Linked DNA regions of Homo sapiens: regions 2 and 3 are each linked to region 1. Evidence: promoter capture Hi-C in 16 types of primary human blood cells and fetal thymus (Javierre and others, 2016). All regions are on one chromosome and are shown on one strand. Each heading gives the region's core, a stretch centred on a gene start or on the middle of the fragment in contact. The rest is flanking DNA. Distances are from core to core; before and after follow the strand shown.

Region 1 (4,275 bases), core at 104-2,603:
CATTTCTTCTACAGTAAAGTGATCACCTGGGGAAATATAAAAGAAATCTTGTCGTCATGACAACAGAGGCAGTTTACCCCCAATTGCCCAGACAATAGGTGCTAGGTAAGTTGTCATGACAACAGAGGTGCCTGGGCCAGCCTCACAGAAGCAAGTGTCCAATTATGAGCAAAGCTGAAAGGCTTAACTGAGCTACATACTGGTTGCTTAACCATTAGAGACACAGAGTTCTGGTCTGTCTTCAGCTCTGACTCCATGTTTTCTGTCTAATCTGGAGGCTCTAAAGCCAGAGAGGCAAGAGCATAATGACCTCTGGGGGATGGGAAACAATGCTGTGAACCCACTCTTAAAATCCTGACTCTAGCTTGTCTGGGCCACACTAGCACAAGGAATGTTCTCTCCTCAACACACCACCTCCCACCTCAGCTGCTCCAGGGGCACCCCTACCGTATGTCCGCACTAAAAATATCTCACAAACTACCTCCTTGGTTTCATGTCCCTTGCTAAGGTTCCTTTCTGCTGAGGGCAGGGCTCCTGTCTCATCTAGTGGTTTGAATTTATCAGTCCCTACCCTTTAGTCCTTTAGTTGGTCCCTGGGCAGTACGCCCTCTAGTGGACTAATCCACAACTACATGTCCTCGAGTAGGACTCATTCTTCAAGAAACCTAAAAGCATTTCCTAACCCATACCAAGGGTTAGAAAAATATGTGTATACACCTAGCAGAAGGGCAAGAAAAAAGGACACTCCATTTTCTTTTTTCTTTTTTTTTTTTTTTTTGAGACGGAGTCTCGCTCTGTCGCCCAGGCTGTAGTGCAGTGGCGTGATCTGGGCTCACTGCAAGCTCCGCCTCCCGGGTTCACGCCATTCTCCTGCGTCAGCCTCCTGAGTAGCTGGGACTACAGGCGCCCGCCACCACGCCCGGCTAATTTTCTGTATTTTTAGTAGAGACAGGGTTTCACCGTGTTAGCCAGGATGGTCTCGATATCCTGACCTCGTGATCCGCCCGCCTCGGCCTCGCAAAGTGCTGAGATTACAGGCGTGAGCCCCCGCGCCCGGCCAGGACACTCCATTTTCTAAGCTAACTGTCCCCACCCCCTCTTTAGCTGTGTCGAACAAATCTGCCTGCAGGTACCAAGATCTTATCTTTATAGGAGTTTTGATCTTGGTGCCTTCTCAATGCCTACCTTGGAAAAAAAAAAGCAGACTGCCAACCAATCCAGAGTCCTTTCACCAGCTAAGTTGCCTGTATGGATGTCCCAGCAACAAAAAGGCTGCCATTGTTACTGTAGAGCTATTCCAGGTTGACTCTAGTCCCACCTCCTTTCCTGAACTCCTGCAACCCGCAACTGCCTGCAGCCTGTCCCCTCCTGCTCATATATATAGGCTGATCCTGAGCTCATAATGGAGTCTGTCATGACCAGTGCTCAATTATTACAAAGTTACAACAGCAGCCTGGGCCTTGCTTAGGACTCTGGGGCCTGCCTAAAAGTGGGCTGAGGCTTTTTTTAACGTGAATTATTATTATTATTAACGTGAATAAAACTGAAAATCAAACCCGTGCCATTCGTCATGTCCTTTTTTGAGTCTTCTAAAGTCACTGTTATCCCAGGACCTGTAGCAGGTATTTTGGAGGCACCAAGCAGGCTGAAAAAATTGTTGGAGAGTTCATCCATTTCTAGAACCTCTGTCCGGGCCCTACTGCTCCAGCTAGGGAAAAAGAATTCTTCAGTCTGAGAGGGCAGGGAGAAAATCCATGTGATCTCCAGGGAACCCTTAGCCAAGAGTCAGTTAGGAGTGTTCTAGGAACCAGCCAGCCATTCACATCTTTTCTTCTCAACTCTCTCCTCAACCAACAACTCCATAGCATGGTGGCCCCCTTTCATGTCACTGCCTAAAGTGGTTTACTTTTTACCCATGCAATCCTACACTGTCTTCCCGGCTAGTCCATAAGCTTCCCCAGGAAAGGGAAGCTCTTTTTCATCTCCTCAGCAGGCCTTAGCACCAGGCTCTGGACACAGCAGTCATGTAACCCAGCTCACCAACTTTTACAGGCTGATTGGAGAGGACTGTCTTTCAAACTGGACAGAGCAAAAGCTTTGCCATGATCAATAGAATAACTTGATAACTGGAAGAAATTTCAAAATACTGCCCAGTCCTCTCAAGGGCTTGGTCCCAGAACCCTGCCCACCTCTCTTCATCCTCCAGCACCCTCTTCATTCCCCATTCTCTAATCCCTTTTTTTCTAGCCCCTCTCACTTCAATACAAATCACTCTTTCCCATCTCCACACTTTACCTCCTACACTGTGCATTCCCTCCTTAGCGTGGTTTTGAGATATCTTCCCTCTCTAGCTTCTCAGTCCTTCTCCCCTATAGATAGCCAGGGGAAAAAAAGTTCTATTTTAATAGGCATGTAAGCCACAAAGTGGTATTTAAGGCTCCAATGTTCCTTTCCAGCACACACACACACACACACACACCCCACACACAAACACCCCTCAGAATTTGGCCTAAATAGAGAATACCCAAATGCAGGATGCCCCACCCCTGGATTTCAAGCCATTCATCTTTGCTCCTCCAGCTACAACAGGTGCAGTATGTTAAAGTCACAAAAAGCCAAGACCAGCTTACTCTGTTGGCCATATTTTCTCTCCTGTGTGAAATGGCTTTTTCCAGCCTGGGAAATGTGTCCAAATAACTCCCTTTAGATTTATTATGATTGGAGAAAAGGGAAAATAATTAGATCTATAGAAACAGAAATAGCAGTTGGATCCAACTTTCCCCCTCAGAGCTTTTTTGCCAACATCCTTTGCTTACATCCTCTAGCCAGGGTAGGGCTCAGGGGATCAGGGTGAGTACTGGGCAACAGGGTCATCTGAGGGACCCTGAACTGGAAATCAAAGGAGAAAACCATTTTACTTACTCCCCTCATTTTAAAATTATTGCAAAATATTTTGTTTGCCTCTGGTTCTTCACCTCGAAAATGGGTCCAGCACAACCTCCTTTGTCAGAATAGTGTAAAAATGAATTACAGAGTACATGTGAGGTGAACCAAGGCCTGTCTTTATGATGACAGGTCAGTTTCTAGTCATGTCATTATCAAGGGTTACTAGGACCTACAACACCAACATCTCATACACAAAGCCACTTTTCTTTTTTTTTTTCTTTTTCTTTTTTTTTTTTTGAGATGGAGTCTCGCTCTGTCACCCAGGCTAGAGTGCAATAGCGCAATCTCTGCTCACTGCAACCTCCGCCTCGTGGGTTCAAGCGATTCTCCTGCCTCAGCCTACTGAGTAGCTGGGATTACAGGTGCCCGCCACCACGCCTGACTAATTTTTGTATTTTTAGTAGAGAAGAGGTTTCACCATATTGGTCAGGCTGGTCTCGAACTCCTGACTTCGTGATCCGCCAGCTTCGGCCTCTCAAAGTGTTGGGATTACAGGTGTGAGCCACCGTGCCTGGCAAAGCCACTTTTCAGTGTGTTGCCATAGCTGCAGAGGTCCCACGATAAAGACCCTGTGGTGTCCCTCTAACTGAGAGAGACAGAGTGTTTAAAATCTACTTTATCCACATTTTGTATATATCTATGTCATACCTATACAATATACACATATTTTTTTCTTATAACTTATAATAAATACCTCAGGTAGCCACAGGATGACCAGCTCTTCCTGATTTGCCTTGCACTTCCCCAGTTTCAGCCCTGAAAGACCCAAGTCTTAGGAACACCTTCCGTTCTGGACAAACCGAGATGACAGTTTGCATCGTCCTCCAAGAGGCCATTGCACTTCAGGTGATTTCTTAGATACCTGAAACTTTGACTCTAAAACCATGAATACTTTAAGAAATTACCACCATCTTTGAAGGAAGCATTTCTCAACCCTGTCCTTTAGAAGTAAATAAAATTAGGCTTGTTAGGGTTGCATATAAAATAAGACTAAATAGGCTGTGAATGGGGGCCTGAGGGCCTCATATAAGTAAAGCTCTCTCTATTGACACTCAGAGGTTTTGGTTCTCTCTCTCTCTCTCTCTCTCTCTCTCTCGCTCTCTCTTGCTCTCTTTCTCTCTCAACTTTATCTTTCTGTCCCTACTTCCTGGCTCCTAGCTGCGTTTAGCTACTAAAGGTTGTCAGCTAACTATTGGAAAATGGACTTTTGGCAGTCTGCCGCATTACTTAGTGCTTATATAAAATTTACCCCTCACTGGGCATGTGTTTATCCTAATTTGGATAACTCATTGGGTTATTTAAAACTTTTGGAATTTTCAGTTTTAAGTT
Region 2 (4,250 bases), core at 899-3,398, 160 kb after region 1:
ATAGCTCTGTGAGGTTTATAAAATAGCCTACAAGCAGAGAAATTCCTTTGATCTCATCATTGGAGAAGAGGTTTAGCAGGTGGAATTTCCTTCCATCAGCAGCTATGTGCTTTGTGGTAGCTTCTGAGGCCCATGTTAAAGATGCCTTTCATTGTCACAAAGCAATGAATAGTTCATTTGGGGAAGCAACTGGATGTTTAACATGCATTTGCTATAGATTTACATATATTTTTCTGCCTATATAAATAATCATCAGTGATTCCTATGTATCTCTCAAATGGATATGGAAATATGCAGTCGTTAGGTCTTTCTAGCATTTTGAGATTGTAATATAAATTATATAAATTATCTCCTGGTGACCATGGTATTTTTCCATCCTATAATGATTTTTTAAGCCAGAAATTTTGCAAGTGTTAGTTAAAATGTCAGTTACTATACCTTAATAGTTTCAGAAATAAGAATTACCCTAGAATTCGCTCTATTATAATGATACTAAGCCATGTTCCCTAAAGTAAACAGTTACTCTTAAGTATCATCATCATTATTTTCTTAGAATGTAATATTTTTATTTTTGTACTTCAAAAAGAAATGAACATCCACTTTTCCAAAAATATTTAAACACTGCAAGTGATTATTATGGTTGTATGTAGTGCAGAACAATTTGATCAGACATAGTAATGATCTGGTAATATAACAAGAGTGTAGTAGTTGGAATCTTTTGGATGATTTAATTGCATCAAAAACTTATACAAATGTATTTCAAATACTTTCTTTGAGCCATGTTGACATACGATATACCGTACATGTTTAAAATATATAGTTTAATAAGTTTTAACATATGTATGCTCTCTCTGGTGAATCCAATATTATAGTCAAGATAATGAACATATTCATCACCTCAAAAAGCTTCCTTATGCACCTTTGTAATCCTCTCCATCTGTCTCTAGCTTCCCTCTCCATGCCAACCTGTCCCATTCCCGGACAATCACTGGTCTCCTCTTACCATAGATTAGTTTTTGTTTCTTGCCCTTTTAAGTAAATGGAATCATAGGATGCTTATTCTCCTTTGTCTGACCTAATTCATTTGTTAACCCCAAAAAAAGTGACTGAGGCAAGTGTCTCAATCACTAGAGGTTTATTGAGCCAAAGTTTGAGGACATGCCTGGGAAAACTGCAAGTCACAGGAGCATCTCTGACTTGTGCTTTACAAAGAGGGGTTTGGGAACTCAGTATTTAAGGGCAGAGAGCAAGCAAGAGGGAAAAAGGGAGAGAGGGTAGGCAGTGAGGCAAATGGTTACATTCTTGTGAGGCTCTAATTAGCGGTCAGTAAATCTGAGTTTTACATAAGATAAGATTTGAAAAGAGAGAGGAAAGAGTCAATTATGTATTCGTTTCAGGGTAGGTGGAAGAGTGATTGATCTTGTCTTTGTTCTGGAAAGATAAGCTTGTAACTGACACTGTCAGTGTAAGATTTAACAAAACTCAGTTTTAGGAGTTAAACTTAGGTTGCAGACTTAAGGTTACAATTGGCATGTGCTGGTTTTATAGGGGGATATGTATCCTGAAAGATTTAGGGGCTAGCAAGGAATTTCCTTGTGAGCAATATTTGAGGAAGGTCATCTGGGAAGGTATAATGCCTTTTACTGTTGTGGGAATCTGGATTATGTATTACGCTATGACACAGGGTTGTGAAATTACAGTTATCTGGGGACAAAGGTTGGTAATGTTGCACAATTCATTTCCCAGGCTTAACTTTTCCCTTGGCATGATGAATTTGGGAATCCTGAAATTTCATGTTATTTTACATATTTGACCTAATTATTTTTAGATTTATCCATATTGTTGTATATATGAATAGTTCCAAATTTGTTATGCTTTGGATGTTGCTGTTTGTGTCATATCTAAGAAATCTTCTCTGAAGCCAAGACTGCAACAATTTTCTCTTGTGTTTTCTTCTTGAAAATTTATAGTTCTAGCTTTTAAATTTAAATCTTCTTTTATGATCCACTTTGAGTTTTTTATGATGTGGTGTATAGATAAAAGCTTATTTTTGTTATCTACCTGTTCCAGCACAAGTTGTTGAAAGGATGATCTTTCTGCACTGAATTGTCTTTGCATTGTTGTCAAAAATCAGTTGTCCTTATATTTGTGGGTCTATTTCTGGACTCTATACTTTGTTCCTTTGATATACATTTCTTCCTTGAAGGCAATAGTGCACTGTTTTGGTTAATGTAAGTTTATAATGAAGCTTAAATTAGGTAGTGTTTTTCCTCCAACTTTGTTCTTTTACAATGTTGTTTTTCATAGTTTAGGGTCATTTGCATTTCCACATGATTTCTGGAATAAGTTTATTGATTTCTTCTTAAAAATATATGCTAACATTTCTATTGGAGTTGCATAGAATCTATACATCAGTTTGAGGAGAGTAGATATCTTAACAATACTGAGTGTTCTGACTCATGATGATGGCATTTCTCTCCATTTATTTAGGTCTTCTTTAACTTCTCTCCTCAATGTTTTGTGGTGTTCAATGTACAGGCCTTGCACACATGTGGACAGATTATCCTCAGGTATTTTACACTTTTTGATGCTATTATAAATGGCAGTATTTCTTTTTTTAGGCTAGAGTGCAGTGGTATGATCACAGCTCACTATAGCTTTGGGCTTCTGGGCTCAAGTGATCCACCCATCTCAGCCTACCGAGCAGGTGGGACCACAAGTGCATGCCACCATGCCTGGCTAATTAAAAAATTAAAAAAAATTTTTTTAATAGAGGTAGGGTCTTGCTTTGTTGTCCAGGTGGGTCCCAAACTCCTGGTCCCAAGCAATCCTCCCACCTTGGCCTCCCAAAGTGCCGGTATTATAGGCATGAGCCACCATGCCTGGCCTAATGGTAGTATTTTCAATTGCAATTTCAATGTATTATATTTTTACTGAATTGTCAGAAGCTGAGTGTTTAATACTAGCTGCTGGGGAACCTTTTTGGTTGAAAGCACAGGCTACTCTAGGATAGAAAAGATGCTTAATACTTAATGTCTGTATTAGTCAAGGTTCTCCAGAGAAATAGAACCAATAAGATATCTATATATCCATATATCTTTATATATGTATCTTTATATATATACATATAAAGATATTTATTTTAAGGAACTGGTGTATGTGATTTTGGACGCTTGGTGAGTCCAAAATTTGATGGGGGAGTCCAGCAGGCTTCAGACTCAGGAAAGAGTTGAAGTTAAAGTCCAAAGGCGGTGTACTGATAAACCAGGAAGAGCCAATATTACAGATGAAATCTGAAGAGTGAGCTGGCAGAATTCCCTCTTCTTTGGAGGATATCAGCTTTTTATTCTATTTAGGACTCCAGCTGACTGGATGAGGCCCACCCACACTGGGGAGGGCAATCTGCTTTACTTAGTCTGCCAATTTAAATGTAAATTTCATCCAAAAACACCCTCACAGAAACATCCAAAATAACGTTTGACCAAATATCTGGGCATTATGACCCAGCCAAGTTGACACATAAAATTAGTCATCACAGCATACATTTGCCAGTGTTTCCACTATCAGCTTTTATAAGTCATTGGTAATATACTGAAACCAGGGAGAAAATGTCACTGAGACATTTTTCTAAAGATCATCTCCAGAAAAATGAATTACTAAAATAAAATAGTTTTGTAGCTCTTGACTTTGTGTGTGGGTAGATTTTAATTGTGGAGTTTTCTTTTTATACTCCCAAACAAATCTACCTTGATGAATTCTTGGATACTTGGGTGATGAGAAAAAGAGGGAGAGAGCATGTATGTATGTGGGTATCTAGGTATGTATGAAGGTGTATATTGCTGAAGCTGCCGGGAATGTTTATTGTGAGAAAAAATTGAGGTTAATTACTGTGCATCATGTCAGTCCTATTCAGTTCTTAGCACATGTTAGGAATAAGATCGAGGAGGTGGTTGGTTTTTTGTTTTGTTTTGTTTTTTCCTCCCAGCTTTCCCTGGCCAGCATGGTTACCATGGTGACTCAGTGATTGCTATGGGATTTGGTGCAGAATGAAAATCTATTTACGATTCTTGCTTGAATCATTTACTACTGTGATAGTTGTCAGGGTTGCTTTTATAATTCTGTCACTTTGTTTAGATTTATTAATTGACATTTGACTGTTAGATATATATGGTTTTTTTTTTTTTTTTTTTTTTTGAGACAGAGTTTCGCTCTTGTCGCCCAGGCTGGAGTGCAATGGCGCGATCTTGGCT
Region 3 (4,261 bases), core at 1,146-3,645, 190 kb after region 1:
ATTCTCATAAGATCTGGTTGTTTACAAGTGTGTAGCACCTTCCCTGCCATGTAAAACGCCTGCTTCCGCTTTACCTTTCGCCATGAGTTAAAGCTCCCTGAGGCCTCTCCAGAAGCAGATGCCTCTATGGTTCCTATATAGCCTGCAGAACCGTAAGCCATGAAAACCCCTTTTTTAAAATAAATCACCCAGTTTCATGTGTTTGTTTTTAGCAATATGGGAACAGACTAATAGAGTCTAGGTCTTTTACATGTCCATATGAATGTTAGAATCAGCCTGTCGGTTTCTTTAAAAATTTTTTAATAGGATTTCCATTTGAATTGCTCTGAATCTATAGATCAGTTTTGGAAGAATTGACATCTTAACAATACTGAATCTTCTCAGTATTGTTTGTGACCCATGAGCATGGTAAGTCCTCCACTTATTTAGGTCTTTAATTCTCTCAGCAATGATGTGTGGTGTTCAGTGTACAGGCACTGCACATCTGTGGACAGATTGTTCATAAATATTTCATACTCTTGATGATGCTATACATGGCTTTGTTTGTTAAACACAATTGCTAATTACTATATTTTCACAGTACTATCAGCAACCAAGTGTTTAACATCAGTGAGGCATTTTTTTGGTTGAAAGCACAGCTTACTCTAGGATGGAAAAGGTATTTGATCCTTAACCTGTGTTTACCTGTATTTCCGTATCTGCTTTTACAAGTCATTGGCGATATATTGAAACTATGGAGGAAAATGTTCCAGAGACAATTCTACAGGTCATCTTCAGAAATCACACCAAAAGAACATAGTTTAGTAGCTTTCAACTTTATATGTGTGGTCAGAAATGATTTTGTTGCAATGTGTGGCTCAGGCTGGAGTGCAATGGTGCAATCATAGCTCACTGCAGCCTTGAACTCCCAGGCTCAAGCAATCCTCTCACCTCAGCCTCCTGAATAACTGACTACAGGTGTGTGCCCCCATGCTCAGCTAAACTTAAAAACATTTTTCAGAGACAGAGTTTTGCTATGTTGTTTAGACTTCTCTCACACTCCTAACCTCAAGCAATCCTCCTACCTCAGCCATCTGAGTAGCTGGGATTATAGCCACGAGCCACCATGCCTGGCGAGATTTACTTCTTTACCCACCAGTAAATCAACCTCAATAAATTCTTGGAATTTGGAGTGGTGAGAGGGTGAGCAAGCATATATGTATGTGAGTATGTATACATTTGTATGTCACTGAAGCTGTCAGGAATTTTTATTGTAAGGACTACTTGAGGTTAATTACTGTGCATCATGTCAATCCTATTTAGTTCCTAGTACATATTAGGAACAAGCTCGGGATAGTGGTGTTTGTTTTTTCTCAGCTTTCCTTGGCCAGAATGGTTACCATGGTGACTCAGTGACTGCGGTGTGATTTGGTGCAGACTGAGCATCCATTTAGGATTCTTGCCCGAATCTCTCACACCACATTGCCTGTCCATCAGATATAGTATTAGCTTTTCATCTTATGTGTAATTAATCACTTTTCAAGGGCTCAGAAGAAAGTTGCTTCACTTATCTGAGGTTAAGCTACAGATAACATAAAAAGACACTAAGTACCTTGAAATAAAAGGAAATGAGTTGTTGATATTCCTCTCCTGCCCCAATCTCTATTGGGAGGTTAGAAGAGAAATTCTTGGAATCATACAGCATGTGCTCTTTTGTGTCTTGCTTCTTTCAGTCAACATAATGTATGTGAAATTAATATTTATTGTGGTCTATATTGTAGATTGCTTATTCTCATTGGTGTAAAGTATTATATTATTTGGATATTTCACACTATATTTATCTGTGATGGAGATTTGTGTATTTTCCAGTTTTTGACATCTCATGAATAATGGTGTTATGAATGTTCATGTTCATTCTTTTGGATGAACATATATTTTCTTTTTTAAAAAAATCTTATTATCAATAATATTTGAACTATTTAATATCTGTCATCTTAAAATTATTATTCATAACACTTTTTACCTTGTAGCTATAGACAAATACATTCCCATTTTAGCAGGTTAATGAAATTATCTTTATAATACTATAGAAGCATTTATTTGAAGAATACCAGAAGGAACATCCTGAAAACCAAGAACTCAAAATGCCTTTTTATCCCAAAGACATGTTTTACAAATATATACCCATTCATCCATTTGTTTTCACAAATGAAGCTACAGAGAACTTTGAATATAATGATGTGCAGCAGGGGCTTATTCCTAACATATTTAAAATTTAGGTCAACCAAACTTCTCTGTGGAAACTGAGTTGAAATCCGAAATCTTACAATCCTAATTTCGAGCCACATTCATTTTAACTTAATTTTAACATGTTTTGCAAAATGTTCCAATATAAACTTAATAGTTCCTATACCACCAAACATGGATCCTCATGATTTTATTTTCTAGATTGGCTGATAGGCTGAATAATCTCCTGTAGGGTAAGAAGTGTCAACTGTATCAAGCACATGGAGGTGGACTGGCTACAGGAGAAAGGTTTTCCAAATCAAATTCCAAGTATTTCTTTCTCTTTTTATATTACCATTAGGAGAAATAACTAATGTAGATGACGGGTTGATGGGTGCAGCAAACCACCATGGCACGTGTATACCTATGTAACAAACCTGTACATTCTCCACATGTATCCCAGAACTTAAAAGTATAATAAAAAAATTTAACAAAATGGTGTTAGATTCAGAGGCTTGATTCAATTTAGATTTGTTTTGGTCAGAAGTACTTCATATGTGGTATTGTTTATTCCTATAGTGTTACACAGGGGGCTCATTGTGTCTAATTGTCTCTCCTCTTGTGATGTTAAGATTAATTACTATGTTCAAGTATTGTTAAGCTGATCCATCCATTATAAAATTTCCCATCCCTTTTTCACCTCGATTTTTCTGCAGCGTCTAAGGATTGTTGCTTAGTTCTATATTCATTAAAGGTCATAAAAGGATGATATTCTAATTCTATAATTTTCTCTGCTTTATTAGCTGGAATTATTCTATTAAATAAACTTTCATAAACCATTAGGTTACACTGAGGGATAGTATGTATAGAAAGGGTTGGATGAGTGCCTAATTCTTTTGCAATATTTCCACTTTTCAAAACAATGAGTTGTTTCCCTAGGGTTCTCCAAAGGCAAGCAATGAGTTGATATTGTTTGTTTTATTTTATTTTTCTTTTAGAGTGTCATCATGAGCTGTAGAAGTTTTTATATTATAATGTGTTTTAATCCATAGTAGTCATTATTTTATTTAATGTTCAAATTGCTTCATCTTTGTCCAGCGAGAGCCCCTTAAGCTTGGCTTCTGAGTCTTTTTGACGCACTCTCTGGCATGATAGTTTGGTCCAGATTCATCTAGTAGAATGGCTACACAGACCTAAACTCAGTCATTTCTCTAAGATAACCTAGTTCCTTTCAGTGTGATGTGTTTTAAGTGGATTCAATATGGGCACTAGAGTTGCTCATTGCTACTGGGTCTATCATGTTTCTTCACCTTTCTAGTGCATGGAGCCAGTGTATATATATTATATTTTTAAGGGAAAAGACATTATTGGCTTCTGTCCTGGGCTGTTTTTCCTTCTCTTTATAGGTAATGATTTTTTAAATCAATTTTCATTAAAACTTTCCAATTTTAAAAATATAAGCAAATAGAATGTTTCTATTAGTTTTCTCCTATTCCATATATATAAGGTGACATATTCTACACTGGTGGAGTCCAATAGAATTTCTACAAAGGTGAAAATATTCTATGTCTCAACTGTCCAACATAGTAGCCACTAGCTACCTGTGACTATTAAACACCTAAAATGTGGTGAGTGTGACTGAGGAAGTGAATTTAAAATTCCATTTAAATTTAGTTAACTTAAATAGCCATGAGTGGCCAGTGGGTATGGTATGGGACAACAGCAGCTCTACACATTTTTCTGCACTTTGCTTTATTCACTTAATGGTATATCCTGGAAATCACTACATAGCAGCAGAGAGAGGGAATCTTCCTTGCTTGTTATACCGGCATTGAAATCTAGGATGTAGATGCACCTTAGATTATTCAGTCAGTCCTTTATTGGTGGACATCTGTCTTATTTCCAGTCTTCTGCTGTTACAATTTGTTCTGCCAAGAATGACCTTGTGCTTCTGCCTTTTTATCTTTTTGAATTGTATCTTTGGGATACATTCTCCGAAGATTGTTGGTTCCAAGATAAAATAATTGTGCCCTATGAAATAGAAGATTTGAAACAG

Evidence for each region. The method cuts DNA at HindIII sites, captures the fragments that hold promoters and counts their contacts. A CHiCAGO score of 5 or more calls a contact.
Region 2: a contact is called between a fragment that was not itself captured here and the fragment with the promoter of TMEM31 in region 1, in 11 of 17 cell types (naive CD8 T cells, non-activated CD4 T cells, fetal thymus and 8 more). The highest score is 8.8, in naive CD8 T cells.
Region 3: a contact is called between the fragment with the promoter of RAB40A here and the fragment with the promoter of TMEM31 in region 1, in 11 of 17 cell types (megakaryocytes, activated CD4 T cells, M1 macrophages and 8 more). The highest score is 8.0, in megakaryocytes.

The regions. Positions count from the first base shown.
Region 1 is chrX:103,707,987-103,712,261 of GRCh38, reverse strand. TMEM31 (transmembrane protein 31) reads right to left here and starts at 1,353. Exons shown (of 3, transcript NM_182541.2): 1 at 1,186-1,353; 2 at 1-26. The coding sequence starts at 3. It also overlaps the pseudogene GLRA4. The HindIII fragment of the contact is 10,178 bases long and covers 1-1,954 here.
Region 2 is chrX:103,549,859-103,554,108 of GRCh38, reverse strand. The region is part of intron 1 of LINC02589 (long intergenic non-protein coding RNA 2589); the gene reads left to right. Among named protein-coding and RNA genes, the nearest start is that of LINC02589, 3.0 kb to the left of the region's middle. The HindIII fragment of the contact is 205 bases long and covers 2,046-2,250 here.
Region 3 is chrX:103,517,623-103,521,883 of GRCh38, reverse strand. RAB40A (RAB40A, member RAS oncogene family) reads left to right here and starts at 2,395. Exons shown (of 3, transcript NM_080879.3): 1 at 2,395-2,514. It overlaps LL0XNC01-250H12.3 (a long non-coding RNA gene), which reads right to left. Exons shown (of 6, transcript NR_188440.1): 6 at 3,941-4,236. The HindIII fragment of the contact is 4,467 bases long and covers 1-3,320 here.